3 separate regions of the Homo sapiens genome follow, and regions 1 and 3 are each linked to region 2. Evidence: promoter capture Hi-C in human tissues and cell types (Jung and others, 2019). All regions are on one chromosome and are shown on one strand. The core of a region is centred on a gene start or on the middle of the fragment in contact, and the rest is flanking DNA. Distances in the headings are between cores, read along the strand shown. Region 1 overlaps MSANTD3-TMEFF1 (MSANTD3-TMEFF1 readthrough). Region 2 holds the start of ALG2 (ALG2 alpha-1,3/1,6-mannosyltransferase). Region 3 overlaps INVS (inversin).

Evidence for each region. Contacts are between HindIII fragments. The study calls those that stand out against the background at their distance.
Region 1: a contact is called between a fragment that was not itself captured here and the fragment with the promoter of ALG2 in region 2, in 1 of the 25 tissues and cell types used here (aorta).
Region 3: a contact is called between a fragment that was not itself captured here and the fragment with the promoter of ALG2 in region 2, in 1 of the 25 tissues and cell types used here (heart left ventricle).

What each region holds. Positions count from the first base shown.
Region 1 is chr9:100,565,192-100,569,530 of GRCh38, reverse strand. All of the region lies in intron 8 of MSANTD3-TMEFF1 (MSANTD3-TMEFF1 readthrough), which reads right to left. All of the region lies in intron 8 of TMEFF1 (transmembrane protein with EGF like and two follistatin like domains 1), which reads right to left. Among named protein-coding and RNA genes, the nearest start is that of CAVIN4, 11 kb to the left of the region's middle. The HindIII fragment of the contact is 7,104 bases long and covers 1-4,339 here.
Region 2 is chr9:99,220,101-99,224,492 of GRCh38, reverse strand. ALG2 (ALG2 alpha-1,3/1,6-mannosyltransferase) reads left to right here and starts at 2,551. Exons shown (of 2, transcript NM_033087.4): 1 at 2,551-2,946. The coding sequence starts at 2,599. It overlaps SEC61B (SEC61 translocon subunit beta), which reads right to left and starts at 2,211. Exons shown (of 4, transcript NM_006808.3): 1 at 2,127-2,211; 2 at 1,850-1,947. The coding sequence starts at 2,129. RefSeq lists an enhancer at 2,142-2,461. The HindIII fragment of the contact is 4,819 bases long and covers 1-4,041 here.
Region 3 is chr9:100,234,906-100,239,583 of GRCh38, reverse strand. All of the region lies in intron 5 of INVS (inversin), which reads right to left. Among named protein-coding and RNA genes, the nearest start is that of TEX10, 120 kb to the left of the region's middle. The HindIII fragment of the contact is 6,226 bases long and covers 1-4,678 here.

The DNA of each region.
Region 1 (4,339 bases), core at 1,284-3,783, 1.3 Mb before region 2:
AAAATCTTTTGTACTTAAGGACATTATCAAGAAAGTGAAAAGACAAGCCACAAAATGGAAAAAAAAAGTAAGTTCCATATATCTGATAAGGGACTTATATCTAGAATATATAAATAACTAATACAACTCAATAATAGCCAAAAAATAAAAGAGCAAAGGATGTGTACTGACATTTCTCCAGAGAAGATATACAAATAGCCAATAAGCACATGAAAAGATGCTCAACATCATTAGCCATCATGGAAATAAAAATCAAAGCCACCGTATATGCCAGTTTTTACAGTTACTACGATAGCCTAAATCAAAAAGTCAGATAATTACAAGTGTTGTCAAAGGTACTGTAGGGTGTGTAAAATGGTGCAGCCACTTTGGAAAACGGTCTGGCAGCTCCTCAAAATGTTAAACACAGGGTTACCATTTGGCCCAGCAATTCTACCACTAAGCTTTACCCAAGTGAAATTAAAACACGTTCACACAAAAACTTGCAAATGATCATTCAGAGCAGCATTTTTCATAATAACCATAAAGTGGAAAGAACCTAAATTTTCATCAACTGATGATGAGTAGATTAAAAACATGTGGTGTCATCCATACAATGGAATAGTATTCAGCCACAAAAAGGAATGAAGTACTGATATGTGTTATGACATGGATGAACCTGGAAAATATTACGCTAAGTTAAAAAAAGCTAGACACAGGAGACCCCATACTATATAGTTCAATTTACATGAACTATCCAGAATAGGTAAGTCTATAGAGATAGAAAATAAATTAGCGGATGCCTAGAGCTAGAGAGCATGAGGGGATTTGGGAGTAAAAGCTAAAGGGTATGAGGTGTCCTCTTGAGGAGATGAAAATGTACTAAAATTGATTGTGGTGATGGTTGCACAACTCTGTGCATATATTAAACACCAATGGAGAAGGAAGGAAGGAAGAGAGGGAGGGAAGGAAGGAGGGAGGGAGGACAGTTGACACAAAATACAATCTCCATAAAATAAAATCAAACAAGTCATTCAAAAGAAGCACAGTTATTACTGTTATGAAACTTAAGGGAACTTAATCTCATTGGTCCTCATTTAAAGAGGGCACCTTCTAACATAAAGAACATTATCCTCAACAACACAGCTGCAGTAAATTCAATGATATAATGAAGTCTCATGGGATTTTTTAAATAATGTCCTTCATGGTAGGCTAATGGCCAATAGTCAAAGCTCAGTAATATAAAAACAGTTCCATAAGGAGCTGTAACAATGTCCTAGATATGCAGCTCTCTAATGGTTTGGCTTAAGCCAAAGATTAAAATCAGAGTATCAAAAAGAACCAATAGGCCATATATCATCCCTGCAGTTCTCCCTGGATATCATTTTCTCCAACTGACTTTTGGTTATACTATCTGATATGGTTTGGCTGTGCCCTACCCCAATCCCATCTTGAATAGTAACTCCCACAACTCCCATGTGTCGTGGGAGGAACCCAGTGGGAGGTGATTGAATTATGGGGGCAGGTCTTTCCTGCACTGTTCTTGTGACAGTAAATGAGTCTCACGAGATCTGATGGTTTTAAAAACTGGAGTTTTGCTGCACAGGCCCTCTCTTTACTGGCTGCCATCCAGGTAAGATGTGACTTGCTCCTCTTTGCCTTCCCCCATGATTGTGAGGCCTCCCCAGCCACGTGGAACTGTAAGTCCAATTAAACCCTTTATTTTGTAAATTGCCCAGTCTTGGGTATGTCTTTATTAGCAGTGAAAACAGACTAATACACTCTCCTAATACCTAGAGTACTAACTTCTAGGTTATTACTTCTTCTTCTGTTACTGATTAAAGGCAGATCCAGGGATTCAGTCCTCCACTTTCTATTTTCATCCCAAAACACCTTCCACAGGCAATCCCATTCACTCCCACTGTCTCACGTGTGAATTCATTCACACATCCATTTACCACAATTATTGAGCACCTACTGTGGTGAGCATTTGGGATGTATCAGTGAACAGAACAGATAAAGATCCCTGGCCTGCTTACCAGCTACCGGGAGAAGAGTGTCAATAAACAAAGTAAGTGAATTAAATGGTTATGTTAGAAGGTGATATGCACTACAGGGGATGTGGGGTGTGAGGTGTTAAGGGAAACTGCGAACACCAGGTATGAGCCAGGAAAGTTGCAGGAAGGGAGGGTTGCAATTTTAAATAAGGCAATCCGGGTAGGTTAAGAAGGTAACACGTGAGTAAAGACTTGAAGGAGGTGAGGAGCCTGCCATGCAAACAATTGGAGGACAGCATACCAGGCAAAGGAAGAGCCAGTGCAAGTCCCCTAAAGTGGGAGCATCCATGCATGCATGGCATGCCCAAGAACAGCAAGTGTGGCTGCAGAAGAGGGGGTGAGGGAGAGGAGAGCCAGACAGAGAGGTGAAGAGACAAAACTGTAGGGCCTTCTGCACTTAGTGAGATGAAGGAACCACTGGAAGGATTTTAGCAGAGGAATGATACGAACTGACTTTTATTTTAAAAGGTTCACTCTGCACTGTGGGAGGCCAAGGCAGGTGGATCACCTGAGGTCAGGAATTCGAGACCAGCCTGCGCAACATGATGAAACTGTCTACAAAAAAATGCAAAAATCAGCCTGGCCAACGTGCTGAAACCCTATCTCTACTAAAAATACAAAAAATAGCCAGGTGTGGTGGTGCACGCCTGTAATCCCAGCTATTCAGGAGGCTGAGGCATGAGAATCATTTGAACCCAGGAGGTGGAGGCTGCAGTGACCTGAAATCACACCACTGCACTCCAGCCTGGGCAACAGAGTGAGACCCTGTCTCAAAAAAAAGAAAAAAGAAAAAAGAAAAAAGGCGGGGGCACTCACTGTCTGCTGTTTTGATTATGGACTGTAGAATACAATCACGGAAGCTACTGCAAAAATCCCAGGAAAACATTGGCCTGCACTAGGAACAGCACTGGCAATGGTGAGAAGTAACCAAATTCTGGAGATATTCTGAAACAGAATTCCCAGCTGATTGGATACGAAAGAGAAGTCAGAGATACATCAGAGGGTGTTTTGTCTGAGCAACTGAAAAGATGGAGTTGGAATCAACTGAGATGAAGAAGGTGGCAGGTAAAGCAGGTTTAGGGAGGGAGAGCAGATCAGGAGATCAGCTTTGGTCCTGTTGAGATTGAGGTGTCAGACGTCCATGTGGAAATGTAAAGGAGGCATATGGATCTACGAGTTTCAAATTCAGTAGAGAAGTCTGGGATTTATGTAAATTAGGAGTTATTAGCATATGTCATGGGAAGTCCTGAGACTGGACAGAATCTGTAAGAGAAGAGGACTGGGACTGAACCCGGGTACACTACTACATTGAGAGGTCAAGGAGCAAAGTGGGAAGCAGCCAAGAAAACTGGAACATCCAGCGAAGTAGGAAAAAAACAAGAGACAGTATAATTCTTGACACCAAGTGAAGAATGCATATCACACAGGAGGGGGTGAACAAGTGTGTCAAATGCACTGATCATTCAAAAGTAATTTGAGACTAAGTACTGACCACTGAATTTAGAAATGAGAACAGTCTCAGTGGAGTGTTAGGGACAAAAGTTTGTTGGGGTGAGTTCAAGAGAAATGGGAAGTGAGGAACTGGAGATAGACTTTAGACAACTCTTTTGAGTTCTATGAAGGAAAGGAAACAAACAGGACAGTAACTGGTGGGAATGAGAATGAGGAGTTTTTTTCCAAGATGGAATAAATAAAAGTTTATCAATATATATGAGATATACTGATATCAAGTTCTATGATACAGAGAAACAGGGAGAGGCTTGCTGGTAGGTGATAGTGAAAGTGTGCAAGTTCTCATATTGCTTCCATTTTCTCAGTGAACTTGGAAAGAAGATCAACAGGCAAGAGTGAGGATGAGAGAGGAGGTACTGCTAATCTGAGGAGAGAGGAGAAGGTACAAAGAAATCATACAGGAGAGGAGGAGAATGTATAAACTGCAGGTGTAGAATGACTGCCAGGGCAGCATAAAGGGCCCACCTTGAGACCGATCGGTATGTCAGTGAGACGAGTTAACCGGTGGTGTGCTTTTCACCGACAGCCATGATCAACTGCATGTATAGGTATGCAGTGGGTGGAGAGCTGGGAGGAACCAGGACTACAGTTTTGGCAAGTGAGTATGATGAAGCAATAGAGGAATGTGGGATTCAAATGCAAAGGGAACTACAATGACTGGCCATGGAATTTACACTAACGAGGGGAAGAGAATATCCAGGGAGGGACACGGAAAAGGTGATAGGATCAATAAATGGGAGGGCTAGTGGGATAGAAGAATTGCTAGGTAGAAAGTAAAATGGATATGCTAG
Region 2 (4,392 bases), core at 1,302-3,801:
TTTACAAATTCTCGGATGGCCAAACTTCCCTGCCACAGTATTACCAATTCTCATTAAGCAGAACCATTCCCAAGGAACCGCACCCACAGGACATGTTTTCCATTCCTGCACGAAAAATCTCTAAAACCCAGGGTGGGAAGGGGACAGCACTCAAAGCCCATATAAGTTAAACCACAGCCTGATACACTCCTCATGAACATCCCAATGACAGGGAACTCAAAATCATTCAGGATAATTTTACATTTCTGCCAGTTCTATTAGAATGTCTTTGTTCTGATGTGAAATATTTCATGTAAGTTCAAATCATCAGTTTTAGATTTACCTGTTGCAGCCAGAAAATGTCACATCCCTCTTCACATCCTTCAGAAGTTTCCATGCATGTGTTCAAGATTTTTTCCTCCCTAGATAAAACCCCACTAGTTCCTTCAAAAATCCCAAAACAACTTGGTTGCTTGATTCCTTCCTTCAGTCATTATTTATTGTGTCATGCCTTATGGTGGGTACCTGGGATAGAAATGACTTGAGCAGGTTCTCTGTTAAAGTCTAATGAAGGAGATAAATATGGAAACATCACTGGTCTTATAATGATATGAACAAAATGCTATGGGGGCAAAAGGGAAAACTAGTAGCTACTGCTGCTTACAGACAGAGAAGGCCTCAAGAGGAAATAACCCCTGAGCTTAGTCTTGGAAAATAAGTAGAAATTTGCCTTGAGATGAGGGAGAAAGTTTGTGAATTCAGAAAACAGTAATGGGTTCACGAGTGCTGGATCATAGGACAGCAAAGAAAGATTAGGCTGAAGGCCGGGCGCAGTGGCTCACGCCTGTAATTCCAGCACTTTTGGAGGCAGAGACGGAGGATCACAAGGTCAGGAGATCGAGACCATCCTGGCTAACATGGTGAAACCCCGTCTCTACTAAAAATACAAAAAATTAGCTGGGTGTGGTGGCACGTGCCTGCAGTCTCAGCTACTCAGGAGGCTGAGGCAGGAGAATTGCTTGAACTCTGGAGGCAAAGGCTGTAGTGAGCCGAGATCGTGCCACTGCACTCCAGCCTGGGCGACAGAGTGAGATTCCATCCCAAAAAAAAAAAAAGGAAAAAGAAAGGTTAGGCTGAAATGACCACTAAGAGCTTTGGTATCCCCCCGGTTTTTTTTTTTTGTTTGTTTGTTTTTTTTAGTTCAGCAACAAGTAACAGAAACTACGCAGAAGAGTAACAGCAGAGCGAACGATGGACTGGAAAGCAAACAGCCTGAAGAAAAGGGTTAAGTAGCAAATGCAAAGCAGTAGAAAGGGAAAAGGAAAGAGCTTATGAGAAAGCTTTCAAGCAGAGTTTAAAGTCTGGCATATGACTAGAGAGAGAAAGAGCATAAGAAAAATCCAAGATGACGCTGACGTTTCTGGCTCTGAGTAAATGAGTGTACAACAGTGCCATATGGAAGTAAGGAGATATAATTGAGAGTGAGAGAGCTGAGCTGAAAAGAGACTAAGTTTTGTGTAGGACGAGTTATCTGTAGGACAGATTGCTTATGGGGCCGCCAGATGGAAATGTGAGTGCAAACCTCAGGTCCAGAGACACCAGTTTAATGACATCGGTTTTCTCAAAGTTATCTCTGACTCTATTCCAGTTTGTTAACTTTCCTTTTTTAAGAGTAGTGCCCTAAACTGAGCAACGAGAAAAAAAATGTCGCCTTCCTCCCAAAAGGCCTTTAACTACTCCCACGGCCACGTCACTAGAAGCTCATTTTGCCTTTGTCAATCTTCACATGCTAGGGTCTCCACCCCAGAATCAGCGAGGTTCTGGGTCCTATCTCCGAGTCTGGAAGCGAACGAACTGCAGGGTTCCTTACCTCTGCCGGACAGTGGATCCCGCCGCCCGGGCGGCCACTGCTTTGCTGGGAGAGCGCCCTGAGGATCCCACGTTAGTGCCACTGGGGGTCGGACCAGGCTGTAGAGGGAGACAAGCAGACAGACGGGTGAGCGCGGCAGGCCTGCCCCAGAACCCCGGCCTAGACACCCACACCCGAGGCTGGGGGAAGCAAGGGAGCTACAGAGGAAAAGCACGGCGCAAAGCAGGAGGAGTCAGGGCTTCTGGGAGAGGCGGGGATCATGGAAGGGCCGCCATACCATATTGGAGATGAGGGTGGCAAGGCGCTGACGCGGACGGATAGAAAGTTACGGAGCCCCCGAAAGACCGGCAGCTGGCGAGACTGACTCAGGCCCCGCCCCCGGACTTGCAGGCAAGGTCCTCTCTGACCCCAGGGACGCCTGGGTCGTCTCACGATATGCCTGTAGACAGTCTGCTACAGACAACTTAGTTACCTGCTGTATGGGAAGTAGAGACCTCCGGCCTCCTTCCTTTGGATCACAACGTCCTTCAGAAAGTCCAATCCCTACCGAAGGAAAAATATAACCGGGGTCAGACAAGATATTTTCTCAGGCAGTTACTAGACCCTCACAGATTTGCGCTGATGTGGCCTAACTGACGCACGTACGGCAGGGCGGGGTCGGCCCGCAGTGGCCAGCTGGGAGCTACGAGCGCGGAGCTTGCGCAGAAGACCCCCATCAGGGTGCGGGGTGCAGTTGCGGCTCCAGGGCCATGGCGGAGGAGCAGGGCCGGGAACGGGACTCGGTTCCCAAGCCGTCGGTGCTGTTCCTCCACCCAGACCTGGGCGTGGGCGGCGCTGAGCGGCTGGTGTTGGACGCGGCGCTGGCGCTGCAGGCGCGCGGGTGTAGCGTGAAGATCTGGACAGCGCACTACGACCCGGGCCACTGTTTCGCCGAGAGCCGCGAGCTACCGGTGCGCTGTGCCGGGGACTGGCTGCCGCGAGGCCTGGGCTGGGGCGGCCGCGGCGCCGCCGTCTGCGCCTACGTGCGCATGGTTTTCCTGGCGCTCTACGTGCTGTTCCTCGCCGACGAGGAGTTCGACGTGGTAGTGTGCGACCAGGTGAGGCGGCCGCGGGGCCGGCTGCGCGAGTGCGGACCTCGCCGTGGAGGGCGGCCGCGGGCATGACCCCTGAGAGAAGACCTTCCCTGTCTGCGGTTCGCAAAGATCGGAACTGACATGGAGAAGTCAGGGTTGTGAGCGAGCCTGTGGTTCTCTAACTTTAGTGTGGGCCCATTTAAAGTTGCAGATTGCTGGGGTTCCATCCTCCAGGAAGTTTTCATCCAGGTGCCCTGAGGTGGGGCCCAGACATCTGCATTTTAACTGGGTCATAGGGTGATTCCGAGGTAGATAGTCTTTGGGGCTCTGAGAAACGCTGGTATTAGAAGTCAGCTTCAGTCACCTTTTACTAATGAGTAACTCGCGTGTTGTCTTCCCGCTTACCTGTTATTTTTGTTGACTCTCCTTTCAGGCCATTTGCATCCCACTGTCCTTGTGTTCGGAGCCAGGCCACACCGTCCTCAGCAGTGTCATGTGTTAAAAACGCCAAGCTGAATATATCATGCCCCTATTAAAACTTGTACATGGCTCCCCATTGGTTTTTGGAGAAAAGTTCAAGCTTTTTACCTTGGTAAATAATGTCCACCTGGATCTGCCCTGTAGCTATTCTTGACTCTTTCCTTCGTGCATTTTTCCCCATCCTAAAAAAGATGACTTTAAAAAGTAACATTTACTCGATTAAAAATTTAGTAGTATAGAAGGATGTAACCTAAAAGCCCCGTCCTATTCTACTCCCTGAAGATAGCCACCGTTAAGTTTCTCTTGTATTTTTTCAGAAGTTGTGGTGACACCAGCCTGTGTCTTTTCATAGGTATATCTATATCTTCTTATTGGTACATAATTGGTATTATGACATACCTACTATTAGGCATCTTTTTCAGCAAAAATTTATTTATTTATTTATTTATTTTGAAACGGAGTCTTGCTCTGTCTCCCAGGCTGGAGTGCAGTGGCGCGATCTCGGCTCACTGCAACCTCCGCCTCCAGAGTAGCTGGGAGTACAGGTGCGCGCCCCACGCCCGGCTAATTTTTTCTATTTTTAGTAGAGATGGGGTTTCACCATGTTGGCCAGGCTGGTCTCGAACTCCTGACCTCGCGATCCGCCCACCTCGGCCTCCCAAAGTGCTGGGATTACAGGCATGAGCCACTGCGCCCAGCCGGGACATTCTTATGTATCAATATTAGAGATTCACTTCATTCTTCATAGTGGCCAGAAAATCCACTTTTGTTTAAGTGTGTCATAATTAAACATTCTCCTTAAAGGACACTAATGTTGTGACTAGTTTTTTGTGAATAGATCAGTGTTGTAATGAACATCCTTTTACTTCTTTTTTTTAAAATATTTTTGTACTTCTGCAAATATGTCGTTTGAGGAAATTCCTAAAGTTGGTGGGTCTAAGAGTTGTTCATTTTAAATATCAATAGCTACTGCCAAGTTTGCCTACCAAG
Region 3 (4,678 bases), core at 538-3,037, 1.0 Mb before region 2:
ATTTTCATATTTAATTATAAAAAGTACAGAAAATAATATAACCATTACATACTGATTATCTAGATTAAAAAGGTGTCAACATTTTGCCTGATATGCTTTTGTTTCTGTTATCATTCAACTAAAGATGTATGTTTTTATACTTTTGTATATATGTATGTATCCATAAACAATATATAAATTTTGTATGTGTGTTTTCAAATGTTTACATTATGGCAACGGACATGTATCCTTTGGCAATTCTTTCTCTCAACACTATACCTTGGATATCTATGTTGGTAATAGTTCAATTATTGAGGTGCTTGAATAAACCACAATATAGTTATCTATTTTCCTACTGAGGAACATTTAGGCTATTCCCATTTTTTTTCACTATTACAGACAATGCTGCAATTAATGTTTCCTTTACATATCCCTTGTAGCACATGTGTGAGATTTTTCCATAGGCTAGACAGCTAGAAGGGGAACTGCTGGGGTGAAGGATATCTTCAAACAGGTATTGTCACATCACTCTCCAAATGGTCTTACCAATTAACACTCCCATGACAATATGTAAAAGTTTTTATTTCCCTACATGCTGGCAGAAATTAATCATTTGGTATTATCAAGCTTACTGCATTTTTCCCTTATGGTTATGAAAGACATTTCACTGCTATTTTAACTTGTAGTTCATTTATGAATGGGGTTGAGATTTTTTAATCATGTGTTTATTAGTGAGTTCACAATGTTAATTAATTTTTCTACTGGATCTTTATAGCAAGCATTATCAAAATTACCAGGCAGATTTGAAAAAGAACCAAATAGAACTTTTAGAAGTGAAAAATGTCATCACAAAGATTAACAGTTCAATGGATAGGGTAAACAACAGGTTGGACTTATTTGAAGAAAAACTTAGTAAACTCGAAGACAGATCTGATGTCATTACCTAGGACGCAACAGAAAGAGACAAGGAGATGAGAATATAAAAGAGAAGTTAAAAGACATGGAGGATTAGATAAAAAGCCTTAAAAGATATATAATTGGAGACCCTAAAGGCAAGAGTAAAGGGAATGAAGGAGAGGTGATATTTAAAGATAACAGCTATATATGTTTGGCAGAACTGAGATGCAATAATCAGAATGTATACCAAACAGGATTTTTTAAAAAGGCCACACCTAGACACACTGTAGTAAAACTGTAGAATGCCAAACAAAGAGCAAAATGTAAAAGCAGCCTGAGAGAAAAGATACATCATGTATAAAGGAATGACAGACCAATAACAGACTCCTTAAGAGCAATAATAAAAGGCAGAAAGTAGCAAAATAATATGCTGAAAGAGCTGAGAAAAATAGATTCCTAGGACTGTGTACACAGGATAATCATTTTTTTTTCAAGAGGCATACATTCTTAACAATTAAAAAGGAGAGTTGGCTGGGGGTGGTGGCTCATGCCTGTAATCCCAGCACTTTGGGAGGCTGACGTAGGTGGATCACTTGAGGCCAAGAGTTCAAAACCAGTCTGGCCAACATGGTGAAACCCCGTCTCTACTAAAAATATAAAAATTAGCTGTGCGTGGTGGCATGTGCCTGTAGTCCCAGCTACTCAGGAGGATGAAGCAGGAGAATCACTTGAACCCAGGATGCAGAGGTTGCAGTGAGCTGAGATCACATCACTGCACTCCAGCCTGGGAGACAGCCCAAGGCTCTGTCCCAAAAAAACTAAAACCAAACAAACAAAAAACCAGAGAGAGTTGACCACCGAAAGATCTATACTAAAGGGAGTCAAGAGGACAACTCAGCAAGATGGCCAAATAGGAACAGCTCTGGTCTGCAGCTCCCAGTGAGACCAATGCAGAAGGTGAGTGATTTCTGCATTTCCAACTGAGGTGCCCAGTTCATCTCATTGGGACTGGTTAGACAGTGGGTGCAGCCCACAGACGGTGAGCAGAAGCAGGGTAGGGCATCGCCTCACCTGGGAAACACAAAGGATCAGGGAACTCCCTCCCCTAGTCAAGGGAAGCCGTGATGCACAGTGCCGGCAGGGACGGTATCTGGCCCAGATACTACACTTTTTTCACGGTTTTTAGAACCTTCAGACTAGGAGATTCCCTAGGGTGCCTACAGCACCAGGGCCCTAGGTTTCAAGCGCAAAACTGGGTGGCCGTTTGGGCAGACACTGAGCTAGCTTCAGGAGTTCTTTTTTGTACCCCAGTGGCACCTGGAACCCCAGGGAAACAAAACCGTTCACTCCACTGGAAAGGGGGCTGAAGCCAGGGAGCCAAGTGGTTTTGCTCAGTGGGTCCCACCTCCCTGGAGCCCAGAAAGCTAAGATCCACTAGCTTGAAATTCTCGCTGCCAGCACAGCAGTCTGAAGTCAACCTGGGATGCCTGAGCGTGGTGGGGGGAGGGGTGTCACCATTACTGAGGCTTGAGTAGGCGGTTTTCCCCTCACAGTGTAAACAAAGCCTCCAAGAAGTTTGAACTGAGCGGAGCCCACCACAGCGCAGCAAAGCCGCTATAGCCAGACTGCCTTTCTAGATTCTTCCTCTCTGGGCAGGGCATCTCTGAAAGAAAGGCAGCAGTTCCTGTCAGGGGCTTATAGATAAAACTCCCATCTCCCTAGGACAGAGCACCTGGGGAAGGAGTGGCTGTGGGCACAGCTTCAGCAGACTTAAATGTTCCTGCCTGCCAGCTCTGAAGAAAGCAGCAGATCTCCCAACAGAGTGCTTGAGCTCTGCTAAGGGAAAGACTGCCTCCCCAAGTGGGTCCCTGACTCCTGTGCCTCCTCACTGGGAGACACCTCCCAGCAGGGGTCGGCAGACACCTCATACAGGAGAGCCCCAGCTGGAATCTAGCAGTTGCCCATCTGGGACAAAGCATCCAGAGGAAAGAACAGGCAGCAATCTTTACTGTTCCGTAGCCTCTGCTGGTGATACCCACGCAAACAGGGTCTGAAGTGGACTTCCAGCAAACTCCAGCAGGCCCCTAGAAGAGAGGCCTGACTATTAGAAGGAAAACTAACAAACAGAAAGCAATAATATCAACATCAACAAAAAGGACACCCACACAAAAATCCCATCCAAAGGTCATCAGCATCAAAGATCAAAGGTAGATAAATCCATGAAGATGAGGGAAAACCTGTGCAAAAATGCTGAAAATTCCAAAAACCAGAATGCCTCTTCTCCTCCAAAAGATCACAAGTCCTTGCCAGCAAGGGAACAAAAATGGACAGAGAATGAGTTTGATGAATTGACAGAAGAAGACTTCAGAAGGTGGGTAATAAAATCCTCCAAGCTAAAGGAGCATGTTATAACCCAATGCAAGGAAGCTAAGAACCTTGATAAAAGATTACAGGAACTGCTAACTAGAATAACCAGTTTATAGAAGAACATAAATGACCTGATGGAGCTAAAAAACACAGCACGAGAACTTCGTGAAGCATACACAAGTATCAACAGCCGGATCGATCAAGTGGAGGAAAGGATATCAGAGACTGAAGATCAACTTAATGAAATAAAGCATGAAGACAAGGTTAGAGAAAAAATAATGAAAAGGAATGAACAAAGCCTCCAAGAAATATGGGACTATTTCCCAAACCTATGCTGGTGTACCTGAAAGTGATGAGGAGAATGGAACCAAGTTGGAAAACACACTTCAGGATATTATCCAGGAGAACTTCCCTAATCTAGCAAGACAGGCCAATATTCAAATTCAGGAAATACAGAGAACACCATTAAGATGCTCCTCAAGAAGAGCAACCCCAAGACACATAATCATCAGATTCACCAAGGTTCAAATGAAGAAAAAAATGTTAAGGGGCGCCAGACAGAAAGATCAGGTTACCCTTAAAGGGAAACCCATCAGACTTAACAGCAGATCTCTCTGCAGAAACCCTACAAGCCAGAAGAGAGTGGGGGCCAATATTCAACATTCTTAAAGAAAAGAATTTTCAACTCAGAATTTCATATCCAGCCAAACTAAGCTTCATAAGTGAAGGAGAAATAAAATCCTTTACAGATAAGCAAATGCTGAGGGATTTTTGTCACCACCAGGCCTGCCTTACAAGAGTTCCTGTAGGAACCACTAAATATGGGAAGGAAAAACTGGTACCAGCCACTGCAAAGAGATACCAATATATAAAGACCAACCATACTATGAAGAAACTATCAACTAGCGTACAAAATAACCAGCTAGCATCATGATAACAGGATCAAATTCACACATAACAATATTAACCATAAATGTAAATGGGCTAAATGCCTCAATTAAAAGACAAAGGCTGGCAAATTGGATAAAGAGTCAAGACCCACCAGCGTGCTGAATTCAAGAGACCCATCTCATGTGCAAAGACACACACAGGCTCAAAATAAACGGATGGAGGAAGATTTACCAAGCAAATGGAAAGAAAAAAAAAAAGCAGGGGTTGCAATCCTAGTCTCTGATAAAACAGACTTTAAACCAACAAAGATCAAAAAAGACAAAGAAGGGAATTCCTTAAAGGTAAAAGGATCAATATAACAAGAAGAGCGAACTATCCTAAATATATATGCACCCAATACAGGAGCACCCAGATTCATAAAGCAAGTTCTTTGAGACCTACAAAGAGACTTACACTCCCACACAATAATAGTGGGATACTTTAACACCCCACTGTCAATATTAGATGGATCAACACAACAGAAAATTAAGAAGGATATTCAGGA